2 separate regions of the Homo sapiens genome follow, and region 1 is linked to region 2. The links are contacts of gene promoters, found by promoter capture Hi-C in human tissues and cell types (Jung and others, 2019). All regions are on one chromosome and are shown on one strand. The core of a region is centred on a gene start or on the middle of the fragment in contact, and the rest is flanking DNA. Distances in the headings are between cores, read along the strand shown. Region 1 overlaps SPG11 (SPG11 vesicle trafficking associated, spatacsin). Region 2 holds the start of DUOX2 (dual oxidase 2).

What was found. The method cuts DNA at HindIII sites, captures the fragments that hold promoters and counts their contacts. A contact is called where the count stands out against the background at its distance.
Region 1: a contact is called between a fragment that was not itself captured here and the fragment with the promoter of DUOX2 in region 2, in 1 of the 25 tissues and cell types used here (lymphoblastoid cells).

What each region holds. Positions count from the first base shown.
Region 1 is chr15:44,596,759-44,603,612 of GRCh38, reverse strand. It overlaps SPG11 (SPG11 vesicle trafficking associated, spatacsin), which reads left to right. Exons shown (of 40, transcript NM_025137.4): 21 at 2,981-3,146; 22 at 4,777-4,982; 23 at 5,240-5,348; 24 at 6,670-6,829. Among named protein-coding and RNA genes, the nearest start is that of EIF3J, 63 kb to the right of the region's middle. The HindIII fragment of the contact is 5,831 bases long and covers 395-6,225 here.
Region 2 is chr15:45,108,234-45,115,452 of GRCh38, reverse strand. DUOX2 (dual oxidase 2) reads left to right here and starts at 1,281. Exons shown (of 34, transcript NM_001363711.2): 1 at 1,281-1,480; 2 at 2,028-2,111; 3 at 2,377-2,466; 4 at 2,735-2,899; 5 at 3,498-3,685; 6 at 3,868-4,069; 7 at 4,176-4,342; 8 at 4,743-4,803; 9 at 4,929-5,025; 10 at 5,473-5,563; 11 at 5,827-5,929; 12 at 6,501-6,664. The coding sequence starts at 2,042. It overlaps DUOXA2 (dual oxidase maturation factor 2), which reads right to left and starts at 1,127. Exons shown (of 6, transcript NM_207581.4): 1 at 701-1,127. The coding sequence starts at 847. RefSeq lists enhancers at 2,509-3,044, 3,887-4,713. The HindIII fragment of the contact is 12,302 bases long and covers 1-7,219 here.

The sequences.
Region 1 (6,854 bases), core at 2,061-4,560, 510 kb after region 2:
CAAATTTATCTAAAAAAAGACATTTTTGTTTGATATTTTCTTGGGTTTAGAGGAACTTTAAACTGAGCTATTCTGCTGGTCTTATTAATAGAAGGATGGTGCCATCTTTCTAAGATATTCATGCTCTATGAATACAACATCAGAAAGTAAGTGATAACAAATGGAGGTTATAGGAGGGTAATTAGTGTAGAGGGAAAAATGTTCTAAAATTACCTGTTGGAGGCCAGGTGCAGTGGCTCATGCCTGTAATCCTAACACTCAGGAAGCTGAGGTGGAAGGATTGCTTGAGGCGAGGAATTCAAGACCAGCTTGGACAACATAGCAAGACACTGTCTCTACAAAAAATTAGCCGGGTATAGAAGATAAGGGTCAAGAAGGTGAAAGAAAAATGTTAAAATTAGCCAGGCATAGTTGTGTGTGCCTACAGTGCTACAGGAGGCTGAGGCAAGAGGATTGCTTGAGTTAAGGAAGTCAAGGCTGCAGTGAGCTATGGTCATGCCACTGCACTCCAGCCTGGGCAACAGCAAGACCCTGTGTCCAAAAAAAAAAAAAAAAAAAATTGCCTGTTGGAGAAAGGTACAGTGAGTTGGCTTTGGTGAACAGAGGACTCATATAAATATGTTAAAAGGGATTTTATTGCATAATGACCTTTTGTGAATGAATTTAAAAGCTCCTTTTGCAGTTATTTAAAGACTTTACAACTATAGGGTTATTGGCTATTGCCTTTCTGAACTTAAAGGATCATCAAATACAGAATTAAAACCAGGATGGTTCAACATACACAAATTAATAAATGATACACCACATTAACAGAATGAAAGACAAAAACCAGGCCAGGCATGGTGACTCATGCCTATAATCCCAGCACTTTGGGAGGCCGAGGTGGGTAGATCACGAGGTCAGGAGATAGAGACCATCCTGGCTAACACGGTGAAACCCTGTCTCTACTAAAAAATACAAAAAAAAATTAGCCAGGTATTGTGGCAGGCGCCTGTAGTCCCACCTACTTGGGAGGCTGAGGCAGGAGAATGGCGTGAATACGGGAGGCGGAACTTGCAGTGAGCCAAGATCACGCTATTGCACTCCAGCCTGGGCAACAGAGCAAGACTCCATCTCAAAAAAAAAAAAAGACAAAAACCATATGATCATATCAATAGATGCAGAAAAAGCATTTAGGAAAATTCAACATCCTTTCATAATAAAAACTCTCAACAAATTAGGCATAGAAGGAATGCATCTCAACATTATAAAGGCCATGTATGACAGTCTCACAGCTAATATACTCAGCAGTGAAAAGTTGAAAGCTTTTCCTCTAAGATCAGAAATAAGACAAGGATGCCCACCCTTGCCACTTCTGTTCAACATAGTAGTTGAAGTCCTAGCCAGAGCATTTAAGCAAAAAAAAAGAAAGGCATCCAAATCAGAAAGAAAGAAGTGAAGTTGTCATTGTTTGCAGATGGCATGATTTTGTATATAGAAAATCCTAAAGACTCTACCAGTAAAACTGTTAGAACTAATAAACAAATCTAAGAAAGTTGCAGGATATTAAATCAACATACAAAAATCAGTGTTTCTATATACCAACAGCAAACTGTCTGAAAAAGATAATGAACAAAACTATCCCATTTCTATTTTTTAATAGAACACAAAATACTTCGGAATAAATTTAATCAAAGAGGTCAAAGATCTGTACATATTAAACTATCAAACATTGGTGAAAGAGGCTGGGTGGGCTGGGCGCGGTGGCTGGCTGGACACAGTGGCTCACGCTCATGCCTGTAATCGCAGCACTTTGGGAGGTCAAGGTGGGCAGATCACCCGAGGCCAGGAGTTCGAGACCAGCCTGGCCAACATGGCGAAACCCCGTCTCTACTGTAAGTACAAAAATTAGCTAGGTGTGGTGGCACGTGCCTCTAAGTCCTAGCTACTTAGGAGGCTAAGGCAGGAGAATCACTTGAACCCAGGAGGCGGAAGTTGCAGTGAGCTGAGATTGTGCCATGGCACTCCAGCCTAGACAGCCGAGCAAGATTCTATTTAAAAAAAAAAAAAAAAAAAGAAGAGGCTGGGCGCACGCATGTAATCCTAGCACTCTGGGAGGCCAAGGCAGGTGGATTGCTTGAGCTCAGGATTTTGAGACCAGCCTGGGCAACATGGTGAAATCTCATCTCTACCAAAAATACTAAAGAAAGCTGGGTGTGGTGGCATGCACCTGTGGTCCCAGCTACTTGGGAGGCTGAAGTGGGAGGATCACCTGAGCCCAGGAAGTGGAGATTGCAGTGAGCCAAGATTATGCCACTGCACTCCAGTCTGGGCGACAGAGCCAGACCCTGTCTTAAAAAAAAAAATAAAAAATCAATTATGTTGTATACTTTAAATATATACAATTCTTAAATAAGTTGCTCAAGGTCACGCAGCTAGTGGTGTCAAGACCAGGAATCTCACACTTTTTTTTGTTTTTTTGAAATGAAGTTTCACTCTTGTTGCCCAGGCTGGAGTGCAATGGCGCGATCTTGGCTCACCACAACCTCTGCCTCCCAGGTTCAAGTGATTCTCCTGCCTCAGTCTCCCAAGTAGCTGGGATTACAGGCATGCACCGCCACATCTGGCTAATTTTGTATTTTTAGTAGAGACGGGGTTTCTCCAACTTGGTCAGGCTGGTCTCAACTCTTGACCTCAGGTCATCCGCCTGCCTTAGTCTCCCAAAGTGCTGGGATTACAGGCGTGAGCCACCGTACCCGGCTGAAGCATCATTTCTTACCAGAGTTTTTATGCAACTTCTCAGGTACACATCTTTGTATAAAATGAAGGCTACCTCTATACACTGAAGTAAAATAAATCAGATTTTGGTAGATTCAAAGTGATACGTAGTGATGCAAAATAATTACAGCAACCAGTTTTATCATTAGAGAGTTCCATGTGCAAATCTGAAATTAATTATGGTGATATACAGATAATTAATATTGTTTTACTTTCCCCCTAGATGCATGGAGTCATCTCCCACATTTCTCTAGCCCTGACCTGGTTAATAAATATGCTATAGTGGAACGTCTGAATTTTGCTTATTATTTACATAATGGGCGGCCATCATTTGCATTTGGTACTTTTCTGGTCCAGGAATTAATCAAGAGCAAGACTCCCAAGCAGCTGTGAGTATTTAAAATATAATTTTGTCTGGGTACAGTGGTTCACACCTGTAATCCCAGCACTTTGGGAAGCAGGAGGATCACTTGAGCCCAGGAGTTCAAGGAAGCAGTGAGCTATGGTCATGCCACTGCACTCTAGCCTGGGTGACAGTGAGGCTCTGCCACTAAAACAAAAAAAGTAAAATAAAATATAATTTGTATTCTAAAAAAGGGCATATCTGTATAATGTTTTACATGTACATTGAAAAACATACTGGAAACATACCACAGTTAACAGTGATTACATTTGGATGGTGATTATTGTTGTTTTCATTTGTGCTTCCCTGTGTGTCCTAAGTTTTTGGCATTTAGTGTGTGTGATTTTTGTTAATTGGAAAAAACATAAATATGTTTTGAAAAATAATAAAATTTAAAATCATACAGGAGTTTGTCAAATATTAGCAGTTAAAGAGGGAATTCTAAGGGAGGGAGAACGTTAGGACAAATACCTAATGCATGCGGGGCTTAAAACCTAGATGACGGGTTGATAGGTGCCACAAACTGCCATGGCACATGTATACCTATGTAACCTGCATGTTCTGCACATGTATCCCAGAACTTTAAAAAAAGGGAATTATATGATGAGATGTGAATTCTATATTTAATGTCTTTAATAATTCAATTATTCATTTTTATAAGGCACAGAATTGAGAGGAGCATTTACTATAATGAACAGCTAAATATAGATTTACTTTATTGGTTTGTTTTATAATTAACAAAGTAATACCTTTTTTATGGTAAAGTATTCAAGTAGTTCAGAAAGGTGAAAATGAAAGATAGCCCTCAGCTTCCCATTCCACATGGTAAAAACATGGTTAATAATGTCTTGTGTGGGCTGAGCACGATGGCTCACACCTGTAATCCCAGCATTTTGGGAGGCCAAGGTGGGCGGATCACAACCTCAGGAGTTTGAGACCAGCCTGGCCAATATGGTGAAACCCTGTCTCTACTAAAAATACAAAAATTAGCCAGGCATGGTGGTGGGTGCCTGTAGTCCCAGCTACTCAGGAGGCTGAGGCAGGAGAATCGCTTGAACCCGGGAGGCAGAGGTTGAAGTGAGCCAAGAATCACACCACTGCACTCCAGTCTGGGCTACAAAACGAGACTCCATCTCAAAAAAATAATAATAAAAATAAAAAATAGTAATTTCTTGTGTCTTTCCCAAATTTTCTATTCCTATAAAAGGCCTATATGAGTTTTTTTAAATGTGCTTCATGATGTCAAACTTACATTTAAGTGGCATTGATATTCTTCGTAGTTTGTATACGTACTCATAATTGATAAGATCACAAGTTGGCAGTCTTTCAGAAGTTGTACTTCATGTCTTGATGAAGTTGGAAGCAAGAATAGTTTAGACTATGACTAAGCGTTTTAGAAAGTCAGCTTAAGGGAAGCGGGGGGCTCTTGGGCCAAAAGACAACTGAAAAGCTACCAGGAACCTAAACGGGTATGTGCAAGGGGCAAAAGGTAAGGGAGAGGAGGCCACAAATCACATGGCTGGCACTCCCTCTGTCACTGATTTAATTCCATTTGCTTTTCCTGGTGAGACATAATTTTCATGTGCTGATGTGATTTTGATTCCTTTCTTTTTCAGGATCCAGCAAGTAGGCAATGAAGCCTATGTTATAGGGCTCTCCTCCTTCCACATACCTTCAATAGGAGCTGCATGTGTTTGTTTCTTAGAATTGCTTGGCCTTGACAGCCTCAAGCTCAGAGTTGATATGAAAGTGGCCAATATAATTTTGAGCTACAAGTGCAGAAATGAAGATGCTCAGTACAGCTTTATCAGAGAGTCTGTAGGTACAGCACCTTTTATCTGGCCTGCTTTGTTTAGAGAAGGTGTGACGAGGTCTAAGGCATTGAATTGTGAGTGTTTGGGGAGAAAATGGTTATCTTCTTGGTTTTATCCTTTTCCTGCAGAGTGTGTGTTCTTTGTCTCACTTTCTTGGGCACTTTAATTGGGTTCTGAAATGGCCCTGAGCCACACTATTCAAACAGAAATGCTCAGGTTTTGACTTTTTCTCTTCACCATATTTTGTTGTTTATATTTCTTACAGCCGAAAAACTATCTAAACTAGCTGATGGTGAAAAGACAACCACAGAAGAATTGCTTGTTCTCTTAGAAGAAGGTACATGGAACAGCATTCAGCAACAGGAAATAAAGAGGTTTGTGAGTTGCAGTCTCAGCCTCTTTTCTAACAAGCTTATTGTGCCAACCTGTGTTTGCCTAGTTTTTCTTTGAACAACTCTGGTGTTTTCACTAAATCCCCCTAGACCTTATCTTCTTCTTTATCTAGCATGTAGCAGATACTCAGTAAATGAATAATGATTTTAATTGCATCTTGCCATCAGTGAAAAGAGGGTGAAGATAGCAATTCTCTCTTTAGAGATGGACTTACCAAGAGATGGAGAGCAGCTTTGTCTCCTCCACTGCCCTGCTAGTCAGAGAAGTCTTTTAAATGGTACATGTTGAAATGCCAGAAGATGTGGGTTCAGATGTCTTGGAGGATTGGAAAAAAATGAAGAAGAGGATGATGTAGGATGGGTCTTCCAAAATTTGACTTTAAGTCATGTCCTTACTTTTTTCATTTTATTATGTCAGTTGATAATGGAAGCTGAAGTGACCGTATGTAAAAGCACCTCCTTACACTTCATGCCTTCTTTATGCTGCCCCACTGGGGCTGACCTAACCACTCCAGACCCTGAGAACGCACCCTTTTTCTGTACATCCTATCACTGATTCTGTTCTTGGCAGAATCCTGCTTGCAGCAGGAACATGTACCCTACCCCTGGTGAGGAGGCCCAGGCACCCACCAGGCCTCTGAGTACTCTAAAGTGAATAGAGCAAGAGAAATAAGTGCTCAGAAAGTTTCTTGACTGACAACTTCCTCAGTTCTCCTAAGGATGCTACACAGCCAGTATAAATAGGTACTTGATTGATGACTTGGGGAAGGAATGAATTGTGCCAGTATGCTAAGCTAGCTATTCTGCCTTATGGGTGAAAAAGTCTACTGTTTTTGGCCAGGCACAGTGGCTCACACCTGTAATCCCAGCACTTCAGGAATGTGAGGCGGACGGATCACCTGAGGTTGGGAGTTCAAGACCAGCCTGACCAACATGGAGAAACCCCGTCTTTAGTAAAAATACAAAATTAGCCGGGTGTGGTGGCACATGCCTGTAATCCCAGCTACTCGGAGGCTGAGACAGGAGAACTGCTTGAACCCAGGAGGCGGAGGTTGCAGTGAGCTGAGATCGCACCATTGTACTCCAGCCTAGGCAACAAGAGCGAAACTCTGTCTCAAAAAAAAAAAAAAAAAAAAGAATCTACTTTTTTCAAAGTAGCCTAATAAATATTTAGTATTTGTTGGAGAATACACTGTGCTTTAATTTATATCATTTTTACTCATTTTCCAGTTCAAGCTAAAGCTATATTTTAATGAGTTTTTTGTTTTTTCTTGACCACCCCCACCTCTAATTCTGATTATAGGTTATCCAGTGAATCTAGCAGCCAATGGGCATTAGTGGTGCAGTTCTGCAGGCTACACAATATGAAACTAAGCATATCTTACCTTAGAGAATGTGCCAAAGCAAATGATTGGCTGCAGTTCATTATTCACAGCCAACTCCACAACTACCACCCAGCAGAGGTAAGCCACTAATTGTTAGCAGTCA
Region 2 (7,219 bases), core at 32-2,531:
AGTGCTAGGCACGCAGGGGTCACCTCCCTCAGAAGAGGGAGGCCCCAGCCTGATCTCCGAGGGGAGGAGGTGGGAATGCAGATACTCCTAGGTGCACCAGTTCCAGGGAAAGCAACACAGATTAAGATGCAGAAAAGCTGGGTCCTCCCAGAACTGAAAAATGCACAACCTAGGTTCTGGGAGAGGGGGAAAGTCTAAGACAATGCACCCAGTTGGCTCCAACTTCTAATCCAATGTGGGAGTCTCAGTCCTGAGGATGAGGCACCCATACACATGTGTCTCAACCCAGTGCAAAGGGGAACACTGCAGTCTGAGCTGCTGGCATCTGTCCTTTTGGCCTGAAGGTCATCACCCACCGGATGGGATGAGAGTGCAGCTTTAGTCCTGGGAGAGGTGGGAGGCCCTCCAGCACAAGAAGCCTAGACTGTTCCTCAGGATTACTGGACTGGGTGCCCATTCTCTGCAGCAGCCTTCCCAAGGACCCAGCTGGGGTCCTTCTCCAGGATATCCTGGATGGGGAGCTCTCCCTATCCTTGGAAAGGGGTGCTTGCTGCACCAGACTCCTGACTTCACTCCACCTGAGCCTCAATTCGACTATTCATGGAGGCTCTTGTACAGTCTTACCTGTCCTGGGTCCCTCAGGAGACAATCTGCCCATGAGCCTTCCCCCACTCTACCTGCACTATGAGGACACCCTTACCGAGTGGCCACGGATCCCCGGCAAGATGAGCAGGAAGCTTGCTGCTAGAGCCAAAAACACTAGAATAACGATGAGCAGTGGAACGCTGAAGCCTGCGGCATGCCGGGGCTGGGGGTAAAAAGGCAGTACGCCGTTCCACAGGGTCATGCTGCACGCCGGCCGAGTGCTGCACGCAGGCGGGCAGGCAAGCCAGCAAGCTGGGGCTGCCTGGACGCGGGAGAGCGCGTCCTTGGCGTCTCTTTGCGTACAAGGCTGGGACCGAGTGGGCTGGTGAAGTCTGAGTCCTGCACCTCTCCGTTAAGGAAGCGTGGAGGTGGGCTGCTCTCAACGCTCTGGGGTTGGTACCGACAGAGTTTTTCTAGCCGGCGAGCGAAACTATTTCTCACTGTCTGTAGCCGTTACTTTCCTGGTTCTGCGGGTTGGCGCTGAGTTTGGAAGTCGCGCGGGACCCCTTTTATAGCAGCGTGGGCGACGTGCCACACGGGTGTCCCAGCCCAGGGGCTGGTCTGAGCTGGAAGAGGTTGTGCAAATAAGGGCCCCACCTCCACGGCAGGAGGGTGAGCCCTAGGTCCAGATGCTCACACTGGCGCAGGTCTGTCCTGAGCCGACACCTGCACAGTGGCGAGACCAAGGACCCAGAGAGAAAGGTGAGAGTGCAGCCGGGGAGGCTGAGGATCGGCGGAGCTGGAAGAGTGAGGGTGAAGGCAAGAAGTAGAGCACAGAAGCAAAGATTTTAAGAGGAAAGAAGACATCTGAACCCAACACCACCCTAAACCACAGGTTAGACCAGAGTTTGGGATCTGACCCTAGCCCTCGCCCATCATGCACAGGCGTTCATTGCAGAAGGGGAGTTTATTGGGGAAGGGGGGATTCATTGTGGAAGGGTGCTGCAGTCCCTCACTCCCAGGTCAGTAACCTTTTTCCCTTCCCTGCCTCCTGGAGGAGAAGCGGAGCCTGACGGATCGGGGGCGGGTGGAGGTGAAACATTGGAGACATTGGGCACACCCTGGGAGGCTTGACCAGTCCTGCCCTGGACTGACATGCCCCAGAAGACTCCTGCCCAGTGGGTTCCTATGGTCGGGGGTTAACTCTCTGATGGGGTGGCGGATGGGGAACAGTGTCAATGCCTCCAGAGCTGCCAATTGTCCTGGAAAGAGTGGCGTTTGGATGAAGGTCCTCGGTGATGCTTCTAACAGCTACCTTCCAGAAGTGGAAACAGCTGGTGCTCCTCCTCCAGTACTAGCTGTAGGAACAAGAGGGGAGGCATAGAGGACGCCCTAACAGTGGCTTTCGCATACCACCTACCACCCCCACCCTCACCCCGCAGGCTGCAGGGTTGGCATGCTCCGTGCAAGACCAGAGGCACTGATGCTCCTGGGAGCTCTTCTGACTGGATCCCTGGGTCCATCGGGCAAGTATCAGGCTCCTCTAGCGGCGGGGTGTTCCCCAGGATCCCTGGGAGGTGGGGCGGGGAGAGGTGCGGCAAGCGGCTCCCTGAGACTGGAAGGTCATTTCGCCGTGCAGCTCAGCGGGATGGGAAACTTCCCAGTGCGGCCCGACACTTGGGTCCGGTTAGGGGCGCTCCGCGAGCTGGGGAAGGACTGGCCAAGGCCTTCGTTGCTCGGGAGGGGTAGCTGGGAGCGTAGTGCTGAGGAGGCCCTTCTCTGTGCCCACAGGCAGTCAGGACGCACTCTCACTGCCCTGGGAAGTGCAGCGCTATGACGGCTGGTTTAACAACCTGAGGCACCACGAGCGTGGTGCTGTTGGTGCGTTCTGGGGGCCCGGGCGTGCTGGGGCCGTGGCTCGCGAAGGGCCGGGGCGCGAAAGGCCCTGAGCGGGGAATCTGCGGGGAACACGCGCCCAGCAGCTCCGCTGCCTACACAGCGCAATCTTATGCGCTCCCGGGGCCAAGAGACCCTTGAGGGAAGGTTCTGTCAGTGAAGTGGGATGGGGGTTGAGGGAGGCTTAGGGAGAGGTTTGGGGGATCCTAGGGGATGGAGTGCTTAGACAGAGCCCCGCTCCCTGCCTCCGCAGGCTGCCGGTTGCAGCGCCGCGTACCAGCCAATTACGCCGACGGTGTGTATCAGGCTCTGGAGGAGCCGCAGCTGCCCAACCCGCGCCGGCTCAGCAACGCAGCCACGCGGGGCATAGCCGGCCTGCCGTCGCTCCACAACCGCACCGTACTGGGGGTCTTCTTTGGTGAGGGCAAAGGGGGAGACCAGTGGGGTTGATCTGGCGCTCTGCTCAGCCTGGGGGAGGGGCCAGATCCCGTCTGCGAGTCCACAGGAGACCCATCCGACTCCCAACCACTTCCTCTCTACGCAGCACTTCGAGACTGCCTTCATCTCGGAGAGATTTTGGGATGTTGATACAGAGATATTTGCTCTGTATCTAACCTTTCTCTTACGCCTTATTCCAACCTAGGGGTGTCACTGGACCCCCATTATAGCTCTTGGGAACTGAGCTCCCCAGCCACCGCTCTCCTCACCGTGTGTTTGTAACCATTTTACCTCCCCCTAGCCCAGAGGGAGGAGGACTGACTTGGGGTACCCCTACATAAATTATATCATTTTGATTCTCACAACAGCTTTATGAATTGAGTAGGAAGGGAACTCACTATAGTCTTACTTTGCAGATTAGAAAATTGAGGCTACCTGGGGCTAACGTGCAGAGCTGGTGGCGGAGCTGGCACTGGGACCTCTGTCTTTTGGCTCCTGAGGACACTTGGAGGCCGCCCTGGCCGTGGGGAGGGCGCAATACGGACGGTTTGTCACGTATTGGCGCCCCATGCCCGCAGGCTACCATGTTCTTTCCGACGTGGTGAGCGTGGAAACGCCCGGTTGCCCCGCCGAGTTCCTCAACATCCGCATCCCACCTGGAGACCCCGTGTTCGACCCCGACCAGCGCGGGGACGTGGTGCTGCCCTTCCAGAGGAGCCGCTGGGACCCCGAGACCGGACGGAGTCCCAGCAACCCCCGGGACCTGGTGAGGCGGGGAAGGCGGCGGGAAGGGACCGCACCCCAGCCAGGTGGGGCCTGGGCTTCGGGCCTGGCAGGGCCTGGAGGGGAGAGGCGCCCACTCCCCAGCCGCGGACACCCGCCGGGCCCCGGCCTTCCCTGGCCCGCCGCCGCCTCTCGACCCGGGCTCACCCGCCGCGTGCCCCGCAGGCCAACCAGGTGACGGGCTGGCTGGACGGCAGCGCCATCTATGGCTCCTCGCACTCCTGGAGCGACGCGCTGCGGAGCTTCTCGGGGGGACAGCTGGCGTCGGGGCCCGACCCCGCTTTCCCCCGAGACTCGCAGAACCCCCTGCTCATGTGGGCGGCGCCCGACCCCGCCACCGGGCAGAACGGGCCCCGGGGGCTGTACGGTGAGGCCACAGGGGCGGGACGGGGCCGGCTGGGGGTCTGCGAGTGTGGGCTCCCCCGATCACGCTACCGCTCGTCTCCTCCCCTGCGCCCCCACGTCGGATGCAGCCTTCGGGGCAGAGAGAGGGAACCGGGAACCCTTCCTGCAGGCGCTGGGCCTGCTCTGGTTCCGCTACCACAACCTGTGGGCGCAGAGGCTGGCCCGCCAGCACCCAGACTGGGAGGACGAGGAGCTGTTCCAGCACGCACGCAAGAGGGTCATCGCCACCTACCAGGTCAGCCGTCCGCGCCCCGCGACGTCCTCCCTTCCGCGTGCAAGCCCACGGGAGACTCCGCTGCCCCATGGAGCTCCCCATCTGTGGACAACCGCCACCCAGAAACCCCTCCCCAGACAGCCGAGGTCTAGGGAAGCCCCTGTAAATGATAGGGAGGCACGCGCTGTTTATAGGAGAAATCTGGCTGGTGATGATTATTTATCACCTCCCCAACCCCCACTCCCTCAAATCCCCTGGTTCCTTGTGGGGACAGGCCTCACACTGCTCCTGTCTGAGTTGCTTCTCCCATGATTGACCCTTCCTGGTCTCATCTCCACACGGAAGCCGTCCTTGGGCTCAGACCCTTCCAGGCCCCACACCATCCAACTTGTGCCTCCCCTCGCCCCTCTCTGCCCCTCAGAACATCGCTGTGTATGAGTGGCTGCCCAGCTTCCTGCAGAAAACACTCCCGGAGTATACAGGTGAGGGAGCGGGGAAGGAGGACACCTGTGCGGAGAATCCTGAGGGGAAGGAGACAGGTGCCTGTGATGGGAGGATGTGGAGGCAAGAAGCCTGTCTCCCCATCATCACCGTCTCCTTCCTGCAGGATACCGTCCTTTCCTAGACCCCAGCATCTCCCCGGAATTTGTGGTGGCCTCTGAGCAGTTCTTCTCTACCATGGTGCCCCCTGGTGTCTACATGAGGTGAGGGAGGGGTTGGCAGAGAGGGGCACCACACTAAGAAAGGTGCAGAATGAGCTGCCTTGGGGGCTGGGGCCTTTCACACTCCTTCGCAGTTTCACTAGAGAAGGGGAAGCAAAAATTTGGGGCCCTGAAACAGAACCCTGGGGTAAGATGTGTAGGCTTAGTAGGGAAATCTCTCCAGCTCTCCTAAGGGCTGAAATTTGGTGGCTGGGTGTAGGATTTGTCTAGCAGCTGGGTCATTCCCTTCCCTCCTCTCCCCACCCTACCTGGACTAGGAGCGCACTCTATCTTCAGTAAACGCACATCACCAAATCTCTGCCGTGTTCAAGGAAGTTCCTGGGCCACTGCTCAATCCTAGTGAACCCCCACTGAGTCCCTCAGCCCACTCAACCCCATCTTTGATTCTTCTCCAAATTCCCTCACCACATCCTTTGTTCTCAATTTCAGAAATGCCAGCTGTCATTTCCGGAAGGTCCTGAACAAGGGTTTTCAAAGCTCCCAAGCTCTCAGGGTCTGCAACAACTACTGGATTCGGGAGGTCAGACTGGGGTCAGGGTCAGGGGAAGATGGGTCAAGGTCAGTCTCTTCACACAGGCTGGGAAAAGCAACAATCCCAGTTCTTGAGTGTTGCTGCCCCAGGTTCATGGGAGATGAAGGGTAGAGGAAATTATCCGGGGACAACAGTTCAAGAGAGTCTGGGACTGGCCAAGGGCCCTTTGTCCTGGGGTACTAAAGTGGTCCAGGCTGAGAGAGACCGAGTTTTGGGTAGAGGCCTATCTTGAGTGCATTGTTTACTTCCAGAACCCCAATCTGAACAGTACCCAGGAGGTGAATGAGCTGCTGCTGGGAATGGCCTCCCAGATTTCGGAGTTGGAGGACAACATAGTGGTTGAAGATCTGAGGGGTGAGCTCAGAGCCAGAAGGGGTGGATGGTAAGGGACCAGGAAGCCTGAGGATCCCTCTGGGTTCATCAATAGCAGACCTAGGGCGCTCACGATGCAGGAACACAGATACAAACACAGACTTCAAGGAGCCATAAGAAGAAAATGAACTTTGAACTTTTTTTTTTTTTTTGCTTAATTTACACTTTTGTGTTGCTTTTATTTTAAATTAACTATGTCTGAGTATTGGGGAGGGGTGGTACCACAATCTCTTTGGTGCTTAATTAGGTCTCTAAAGGTTTTCATTCAGCCCTGTCTTGAAACTAGGGAGGCATAGGACAGGGAATTTACTGCTTGGTGACTAGAACAGTCTTGAGTCTTAGAGGAAGGGTCTTACTGGAAAAACTGGCTCTGATCACCCATGGTGACATTGGCCTTGCAGCAAGGCAAGGTCAGCATGGGCACAGATCTCATGTGGATCACTGGGGGTAGCCAGGAGGGAAGAACCGTAGTGCCAATAGTCAGATACAAGGCTGCAGGGCAAAAAAGGATGGAGAGGACAAAGCCCATAGTCTAGTCTTCTCTCCTCTTCAGATTACTGGCCTGGCCCTGGCAAATTCTCCCGTACAGACTATGTGGCCAGCAGCATCCAACGTGGCCGAGATATGGGGCTGCCCAGCTATAGCCAGGCCCTGCTGGCCTTTGGGCTGGACATCCCAAGGAACTGGAGTGATCTCAACCCTAATGTGGACCCCCAGGTCAGGAATAGTAATGATAATAATGGCAGCTAAAGCTTTCCTATGGCAATACTGTTCCAAACCCTTTACATATGTTGACTCATTTAATCTACATAATAATATTGTAAGGTATGTATAATCATTTTCCCCATTTTACTGATGACATAGTTGGTAAATCATAGAGGAGGGACTTAAATTCAGCCATCTGATTCCAGAATATATTCCTAACCACTGCATTGTACCATTCCTGCAGGGTGGCTTCTGGGTTGGGTGCCATTGTCCTGTTGCTGCAGGGTCCCACCCCAAGGGCTGTGTGCCCCTGAAGCTGCTAATCATTGAGGTCAGGCAGGCTGGTGATGGTCACAGGATATGGTCCTAGGGCACCTGACCGTGGTGTTACCGTGGGTAGGGACACACTGATCCTTCCACCAGACTTGTCCTGCCTGAGGGGGCTTGCCTAAGAAGAGGAAATCAGGCCTGAGCAGCAGCCAGGCAGCGGCTGAGGTTCTGTGCCCGAGGGATGGGGCAACAGTGGCTGCCCTCCGCAGCAAACATACGCTCACCCCTTATCTCCTG